3 separate regions of the Homo sapiens genome follow, and regions 1 and 2 are each linked to region 3. Evidence: promoter capture Hi-C in 16 types of primary human blood cells and fetal thymus (Javierre and others, 2016). All regions are on one chromosome and are shown on one strand. Each heading gives the region's core, a stretch centred on a gene start or on the middle of the fragment in contact. The rest is flanking DNA. Distances are from core to core; before and after follow the strand shown. Region 1 overlaps MIS18A (MIS18 kinetochore protein A). Region 2 overlaps URB1 (URB1 ribosome biogenesis factor). Region 3 holds the start of TCP10L (t-complex 10 like).

The links. The method cuts DNA at HindIII sites, captures the fragments that hold promoters and counts their contacts. A CHiCAGO score of 5 or more calls a contact.
Region 1: a fragment that was not itself captured here is called in contact with the fragment with the promoter of TCP10L in region 3 in 1 of 17 cell types (endothelial precursors); the score reaches 5.3 in endothelial precursors.
Region 2: a fragment that was not itself captured here is called in contact with the fragment with the promoter of TCP10L in region 3 in 6 of 17 cell types (endothelial precursors, erythroblasts, M1 macrophages and 3 more); the score reaches 8.0 in endothelial precursors.

The regions. Positions count from the first base shown.
Region 1 is chr21:32,268,971-32,271,861 of GRCh38, forward strand. MIS18A (MIS18 kinetochore protein A) reads right to left here. Exons shown (of 5, transcript NM_018944.3): 3 at 1,437-1,559; 4 at 737-833; 5 at 1-147. The coding sequence ends at 67. Among named protein-coding and RNA genes, the nearest start is that of MIS18A, 8.6 kb to the right of the region's middle. The HindIII fragment of the contact is 2,073 bases long and covers 563-2,635 here.
Region 2 is chr21:32,324,809-32,327,676 of GRCh38, forward strand. It overlaps URB1 (URB1 ribosome biogenesis factor), which reads right to left. Exons shown (of 39, transcript NM_014825.3): 31 at 421-581. Among named protein-coding and RNA genes, the nearest start is that of MRAP-AS1, 18 kb to the left of the region's middle. The HindIII fragment of the contact is 496 bases long and covers 1,150-1,645 here.
Region 3 is chr21:32,583,957-32,586,774 of GRCh38, forward strand. It overlaps TCP10L (t-complex 10 like), which reads right to left and starts at 1,567. Exons shown (of 5, transcript NM_144659.7): 1 at 1,465-1,567; 2 at 205-349. The coding sequence starts at 348. The region is part of intron 5 of CFAP298-TCP10L (CFAP298-TCP10L readthrough); the gene reads right to left. RefSeq lists an enhancer at 1-324 and a silencer at 1,406-1,605. The HindIII fragment of the contact is 14,271 bases long and covers 1,029-2,818 here.

The DNA of each region.
Region 1 (2,891 bases), core at 349-2,848, 310 kb before region 3:
ATGTTGCTTCATTTAACAAATAAGGGGAGGAAGGGCGGGGGCAGAATGGAGGACACAGACTAGAGTTCAGCTTTTACAAGTGGCAAAGGACAATTTGGATTCGGCCTCCCACAGCTTCATTTGTAATGCTTTCAAGACATCTTCCATCTATTGAATTTAAAAAATAAAAAAATAAAGAAACACACATATAATTAAAAATTATACATGGTTAAATATAATTAAGATATACACTTAATGCAATTTTGGATATGTCATACATTACAAGGTAGATATTCAGTGTTTAACAAAACTATTTAGAGGCATAAATTTTTTAAAAATAAAGCATAATTCTATCAACAGTAGTTCTCAACCTATAATCTACATCTCTTTTATACAATCATCACCATCTCACCTATCTGGCAATGAGAAAATGTTAACATCCAACAACAAGGCTATTTATACCACAAGAATTGAATCAAACAAAATACTGATTTGAATCAAAGATGTATTTCTAGCTTTGCAGTGTTTTAATATATAGTTTTGATTTTGACATGACATGTCTTCCTCATTATTTTGTTGATTAAGCTTTAGCTTTTGAGTTCCCCAAAAATCAACTTTACTAACAACTGAAATGAAATAAGCACACTCTTCCTGCAATCAACACAGATGACGTTATGAGAATTATCGTTTGTGGGGGAGCACTTCTTCACTGACAAACTGTTCATACAAAGATATAAAATGTACAGAATAAAATTACCTGTGTTAGAGACTTTTCTATTTCAACTCTGCTTTCAAGATTAAAAAGCTCTTTATCTTCTGACACAATTTGCTTTTCAGAGGACCCTAAAACATAACTGAAGTACGGTACAAGGTTAAAATACAAGCTGGGTGTGGTGGCATGCACTTGTTCCCAGCTATTCAGGAGGCTGAGACAGAAGGATCATCTGAGGCTAGGAGTTTGAAACCAGCCTGGGCAACACAAGACCCCGGGCAATATGCCTGTAGTCTTAGCTACTTGGGAGGCTGAGGCAGGAGGATCGCTGGAGCCCAGGAGTTCAAGGATGCAGAAAGCTATGACCACAGCACTGCACTCCAGCCTGGGCGACAGAGTGAGACCCCATATCTTAAAAAAATAAGTTTTAAAATAAATAAAAATAAAAAGCTGGGGGCAGGGGGCAATATCCTACTGAACTACTTTCAATTTTTAAAAACAACTGAATATACTTTTATTCCAAAAATTTTCTCACAGTGTTTTCTCCTACAATTTAGAGTGTCTGACTTTTCCAATACCAAATAAAGAAGGAGGTCAAAGCAAAAAAAAAAAAAATTACTGGCTTGTTAGAAATCATTACTTGAAAATATATTTAACCAAACAGTATTGATTTAGTTCTGACAATTCCGTGCCTTAACTTTCTGAAACACCAGTTGTGAGGTAAACATTTATATATCAAACTTACCTTTCAATGGCTTCAACACTGAGGCAAAACAAGTCTCTCTTGTAATCAAGATTCTTGGGCGTGCATCTGTACACGTAGCCAAGATTGAGTGAGCACCCCGCGCAGCACAAAGTCTCAAGGACGCTGCAATAAAGAAATGTCTTGCTTTAGGAAACGAAGCAGCAACTCATTATAATAAAAATCTCACTGTTAAAATCCATAAACACCTCAGTTTCTCAAGTATGCTATTCTGACCACACTAGGTCATACATAAAGGATAGGAAAAAATGATAGTAAGATATTTACAATAAAAATGTAAAGACAGCCACGATGCCTTAAGTATCAAATGACAAGGGACATACAAAAAAGTGACAAGAGAGAATATTGAGGTGGTGTTTTTCTAGAATATAAATTCCTCCATCTGGTACTAATGTAACAAAGTGGAGAATAAATATTTTAGCCTCGCCAGCCATCTGGTGTCTGTCACTACTCACCTCTGCCATTGTAAAACGGAAGCACCTATAGACAATACTAACTGAATAACCTGTGTTCCAATAAACTCGTATTCACAAATGGGTGCCCGCCCCATGGGCCATAGTTTACCAAACTCTGCTCTAGTGGAAGGTAATACTGCTTGGCTTAATAAAAAAAAAGTCTCTAAAGTTAGATGACAACCCATGTAATTGTTTCTTCATTCTAGTTACCTCTCAACTCAGGTTCCACACACTTGAATATACCCTCCCCCAAAGCCTATTCATGTCTCCTTAAAACCTGGCTTAGAATCCAGTGTCTCCCAAACGCCTTGTTGAACTGACCCATCCAAATTTACCATTCTATAAATATACTAAAATTACCATTCCAACACATAGCAAAATGATAACTAGAGATTTAAATCTAGTAGTGATCACAGTAGTAAAACATACACCACAAACGATTTTTATTACAAAAGTATTCTAACTCCTACTCAGTATGTGAAACACTTGTAATCACTAAATATCCATTCCTGCTATCAAGCAAAAGGGAGCTACCCAAGACTCACAGATTATAGACTACATCATTGTTTACTTACAGATACTGAGACACTGTTAATTATTACAGCAACATATGGAACAAAGAACAAAATGGATCACCATCTGATTAAGTCATGAATTCTCACTGATGATGTGATTAGCTGGATAGTATGCCACTGATTACATATTAAGTGTCTACGGGCTTTTATAAGCTTCTATATTTTAGTTTTATAGTAGAAATAGTCTCGCTATGTTGCCCAGGCTGGTCTCGAACTCCTAGCCTCAAGCAATCCTCCACCTTGGCCTCCCAAATGTGAGATTACTGGCAGGAGTCACCATACCCAGCCAGCTTGTTTAAATGTTTATATGAGAAATAAAAAGCATGTCGGTAAATCCCACTTAAATTACTCACAGTGAACAGGTAAACCTCCATGCTATATATCAAACCTCATTACCATTATAAGAC
Region 2 (2,868 bases), core at 148-2,647, 260 kb before region 3:
GGTGCACAACAGCAGAGAGAAGTCTGGCACCATGCCCTGAAAATCTAATCTGCTCTTGTTCCTCCAGCACCATGGGGTACAGGTTTCTAAGGTTCAGTGTGTCGTGGATAATAGCCACCTTAACCACTGAGTTTAGACCAAAGAAATACTCAGTAGAAGTCATATAATTTTGTCTACACACAACACAAGAAAGCCTGTAAGGAGAAACCTTTCTCAACCTCCACGGGGGGTTGTGGATCAAAGGCGACCTCCGGGATCACCTCCTAAGGGAACAGACTTTTGCTCTTCAGCAGAGATCTCCCGGCAACATGCCACCTCCGTGTTCCCTAGTAAATCCTTCTACCAAACCGGGTGGACAGCCAGCTCTCTGAAGTCCGCCAGGCCCACCCCCACAGTAGGATGTACGCTCTTCCTACTTACCTGGGACTGCTCTTGGAACCGTGCGCCCTCCAAGTGCGAGTAGTAGGCCGCCAGGACATGGTAGGCTATGGCTCGCATCTGGGGGTCATAGCTGCTGAGGGCTGTGACAGTTAGGCCCAGAGCATTTGAATCCAAAAATTTTCGACAATCCACCACAAACTCTGCAGGAAATGAAATACAGCATGAAACACACACAATATGATTTTATTATTCTTGTTAACCTGGAGAATTAAATTTCCTCTTGTGTCTTACCAATAGCTACATGTGCCAAGCACAAGGAATGCAAGTCTCTCTCCAACTCCTCCTAACTTCTGCTGAAGTTAGACAAAAAAACCTCTTCCTTTATGTGGCAATAATGACCATACCTTCAGTTTCTAAAATGCTCATACATCCCAACCAGGATAATTTCATTATTTCTCATAAACACCCAATGAGTCAGGATATTGGAGGTGACACTGAGACCCACTGCGGAGACCCCAGCATGCCAGAGGCCTGGGGAACACAACTGGGAATCAGCAGAGAAAATCAGTCCCCAGCTTCCACCTTGCTCAGCCCTCCACCGCGGGCGCCTGTCTATAAGCATCACCGAGGAAAGCACACACAGCAGTGAAAGCAGGAAAAGGCAGCTGATGCCAACCAGCCCGACAAAGGACTCACTCACACCCACTCTGCAACCCTAGCTCTTCCTTCAAATAAACAACACAAGTCTCACAGAAAAGTGGCTCATCAAGCTTAAGCAAAAGCTACGGTCCAGAGAGCCTGTTGGCTGGTATCCATTTGCCATTTGTGAGGCCGAGAGAAGCTGACAATCACTAGAGGAGAGGAGAAGACTCACAGAGAGAGGGAGAAGGTCAGACACATGAGGGGATGCGCCTTACCACAACCTAGAGGGCTCTTCACTAACGAAACTGAGGACACCTTCCCACTCCTTAATAAAAACCCAGGCTATTCTACAAGATAAATACTGTCAAGAAGAACCTTAGAATAGGAATTAATTATTAATGATTAAACTGATCATGATAATTATCCACAATGATGTTCTCGAGATAGAGTGACCAGTGGCCTAATTGGGAACCAAACACAAGCCAACTGAAATGACTACTCCAAATGAGTAATCATGGAATATAACATCAATAAGAGATAGTCCATTGATGACATTTTTAAAAGTTAAAGAAAGATAAAGCATTTTAAGCAGGGACACAGAAGATACAAAAACCCAAAACCAAGCTTCTAGAGATGAAAACTAAAATATCTGAGCTGAAAAATGCATTGGATGGTGAAATGGTTTGGATTTGTGGCCCTACCCAAATCTCATGTTGAATTACAAACCCCCATGTTGGAGGTGGGGACTCCGGTGGGAGGTGATTGGATCTCGGGGCAGATTTCCCCTTGCTGTTCTCATGCTAGTGAGTTCTCACAAGAGCTGGTTGTTTAGAAGCGTGTGGCACTGCCCCACTTCCTCCTGCTCTGGCATGTAAGATGTGCCTGCTTTCCCTTTGCCTTCTACCATAATTGAAAGTTTCCTGAGGCCTCCCCAGCCATGCTTCCTACACAGACTATGAAACCATGAGTCAATTAAACCTCTTTTCTTGATCAATTATCCAGTCTCGGGTTCTTTATACCAGTGCAAGAATGGACCAATAGAGATGGGATTATCAGTGATTAGACACTAGACCAAAAAGGATTAGCGAACTTAAGACAGCAATAGAAACTATCCAAGCTGAAAACACAGAGAGGAAAAATATGAACAGAACATCAGTGTCCTGTGGGTATGTGTAATAGGGGGTCCCTGAAAAAAATCCGAAGAAATAATGGCCAAAACTTTTTGAAATCTGACCAAAAAAAACTATAAACCTAGACAGCCAAGAAACTCAAAACATAAAACATTAAGAATATCATGCAAGCATCATCACAAATAAAGCATATATATTTATATATAAAAGAAAATCACACGAAAGCACATTGTGATCAAATTGTTTGACACCAGTGATTTAAAAAAAATCTTAAGAGCAGCCACATGACATACAGAAGAATGAAGATAAGAATGGCAGATTTCTTGTCAGAAATAACTCAATTCAGAAACCAGAGGAGCAACTTCTTTAAAGTACTGTAAGAAAAAAAACTGTCAACCTTGAATTTTATACCCCATCAAAATCTTTCAAAAGTTAAGACTTTTTTCAGACACAAAAAAGCTAAAACAATTGGTCACCAGTATCAAAATCTTTCAAAAGTTAAGACTTTTTTCAGACACAAAAAAGCTAAAACAATTGGTCACCAGTAGACTTGAACAATAAGAATTCTTAAAGGAAGTATTTTAGGAAGAAGAAAAATGATACCAGATAGAAATCTAGATCTACACAAAGGAATGGTAACAATATGGCAAATATCAAATATTTACACTTCTTTTAGAAATAATGACAATTTGAAGCAAAAACAACACTATATTGT
Region 3 (2,818 bases), core at 317-2,816:
GCCCTGCCTCCCATCCACCAAGAGATACGGTTGCAGAGGGGGAAAGAGCCACATGCCCCTTGGAGAGGAAGTACAGAATCAGTGTCCCGGGGTGGTGCATTCCTACAGGGGTCCAGCAAGGGAAAGTCCAATGACGGGCCTCAGGGACAGGAATCAGGGTCCCGCCTGGTGGGACTAACTCTGTCCCCACAGAGCTCAACTCACTGGCATCTCCCCAGTGTTGCAGTCCTCCGTGAGAACCTCGGCTGCCACAGCTGTCTTCTCCATGACAGCCCCAGCTCCTGGGCACGGGTCCTCTGGGTGGGTGCCCTCTTTGGGGTCCCTGGCCTCGAGTTGACCTGCCAGCATCCTGGTTGGGAAGGGAAGGGCTATGGGGACACTTGAATGCAGCCCTCCTACCCCGTCAGTGTGGGCTGAAGGCCCCAGCCCCAAACTAAGGGTGAGCAGGACCCGCAGCCGCTCCTTCTCCCCCTGGGTCATGTGCACATTCCCAGGCCCGAAGCTGACCAGGTGAAAGGACACCACAGACAGAGGGACTGAGCTGTCCACACCTGGCTCTCCACCATCCTCCGTGGAAAATGCTTTAGATCCTAGAAGATCAGCCTGACACCTAACACACTCCAGTCATCCAAAGAGGGGTGTGAGTGGGGTGTGAGCCGGTGTGAGTGGGATGTGAGTGGGTTGTGAGCAGGATATGAGCGGAATGTGAATGGATGTGAGCGGATGTGAGCACGATGGTCTTGGGGTATGAGCAGGTGTGAGTGGAATGGTCTCAGGGTGTGAGCAGGTGTGAGTGGAGGGTCGCATGAGACACCGAGGGAATTCTCAGCCCTTTAATCAGCACCCACCTGGAGGGGCACAGGCAGACCCTCCACCGTGTTGAGTATGTGTCTTGAACCATCAGGGTGACATTTGTGAATTCATGGTGAAGATGTGGAAAGGAAACACCTTTTTATAGGTACAGCATTTATGCCAGTTCTAGGAAGTTCACAGCAATTAGAGAACAAAAACGAAAGAGAAAAACGCAAAGCTTTCCTGCAAGCCTGCAGGGTCGTCTCTGAAAGCTGCCTCCACCCCTGCCTTGCCCTGTCCGTTTTAGGAAGCCAGTGGCCCCCAACGAAACCCCGACTGTTTAATTCATAAACTTCTAACTGTGTGAGAAGGAACAGTTTAACCACAGTGATCGGAGAAATGCTATTTAAAAGAGAGTCTCCTGATGGAAGCGAATCGAAGGTCTAGAGCAAGACCTACCAGTAACCAGATCACTGCCATTCCTTCCCCGCGGAGACTGGGAATGTTTCTGCGGAAGTGGGCTGGGGTCACGGTCCTCACAGCCCTGAGAAAGCTCCTTCTTTCCTGCTCCTCTGAGGGGACACCCCAGTGTCCTCGGCCCCAAACTCATGACCCCCTCAGTCCAGGGAAGACCCTTTCCTTCAGCCCCACCACCAGACCTCGTCACCTCACCTGGTCCCCAACAGTCACTACTGCCAGGATCAGATCATCTGGGCCATGTCCCCACAGTTGTCCCCAAGCCCTCCTGCCTCATATCCAGAGACCAGAGAGCAGCGGACAGTTCCAACGGACTTTCTGTCTTAAAGGGACATGAACGTCTCACTCAGCGTCACCACTGTACCAGCTCAGATAATAATTAAACATCCCCAAACCTGCAATTCTTAATATAGAAGCTCATCGTCAGTGGAGTCCATCCATCCACAAAGGACATTGGAGAGAGTCAAACTACTCCTCCAAATTGACAAAAACCATGTGTTTTATATCCAGTCTTCAATACGCAACGTGTAGTAAGAGCTCATTTCTCTGAGCATACATTCTTGGAGAAATACAAACTTTCTTCGGATATCAAATTATTTACTAGAAAAAACATTTTTATGAAGGGAAAATAATATATGTGAGTTTAAATAGGAGACAGGATTCAAAGTTTCATCATTTCACTAAATGCATCTCCATCTGAATTGTCCGTGTGATTTTTGTGATAGAGAAGAGAATGAGGAGCAAGCAAGAGTCGATATTCCTGTTAAACCCTGGCTGTCCTTCTCATCCATGGTGCTGCGTGTGGACAACATACACCTGGGGCTCACCTGAGCCTGCTTGGGACGTGTGTCACTTGGATAGTTCTGCAAGCGATTCGCATGCAATAGGCAGTAAATGCCGACGTCATGAATGAATGAAGAGAATACTACAAAGAGGAAACAGAAGGCACTTTTGTCCCCATGTGTCATTCTAACTGTGAGAGTGTGTGTGTGTGTCCTGAGGTGTGCGAGTGTGTGTGTGTGTGTCCTGAGGTGCGTGAGAGGTTGTATGTTTGTCCTGAAGTGTGTGAGAGTTTATATAGGTTTCTGAGGTATGTGAGGGGTTGTGTGTGTCCCTGAGGTGTATGAGGTGTGTGTGGGTCCTGAGGTGTGTGAGTGGTTGTGTGTGGGTCCCTGAGGTGTGTGAGAGGTTGTGTGTGGGTCCTAAGGTGTGTGAGTGGTTGTGTGTGGGTCCTAAGGTGTGTGAGAGGTTGTGTGTGGGTCCTAAGGTGTGTGAGTGGTTGTGTGTGGGTCCTAAGGTGTGTGAGAGGTTGTGTGAGTCCTGAGGTGTGTGAGAGGATTGTGTGTGAGTCCTGAGGTGTGTGAGGGGTTATGTATGGGCCCCTGAGGTGTGTGAGGGGTTTTATGTGTGTCCTGAGAAGTGTGATGAATTGTGTGGGTCCTGAGGTGTGTGAGGGTTTGTGTATGAGACCCTGAGGTGTGTCAACATTGTGTGTGAGACCCTGAGGTGTGTGAGGGGTTGTGTGTGGATTCCTGAGGTGTGTGAGGGC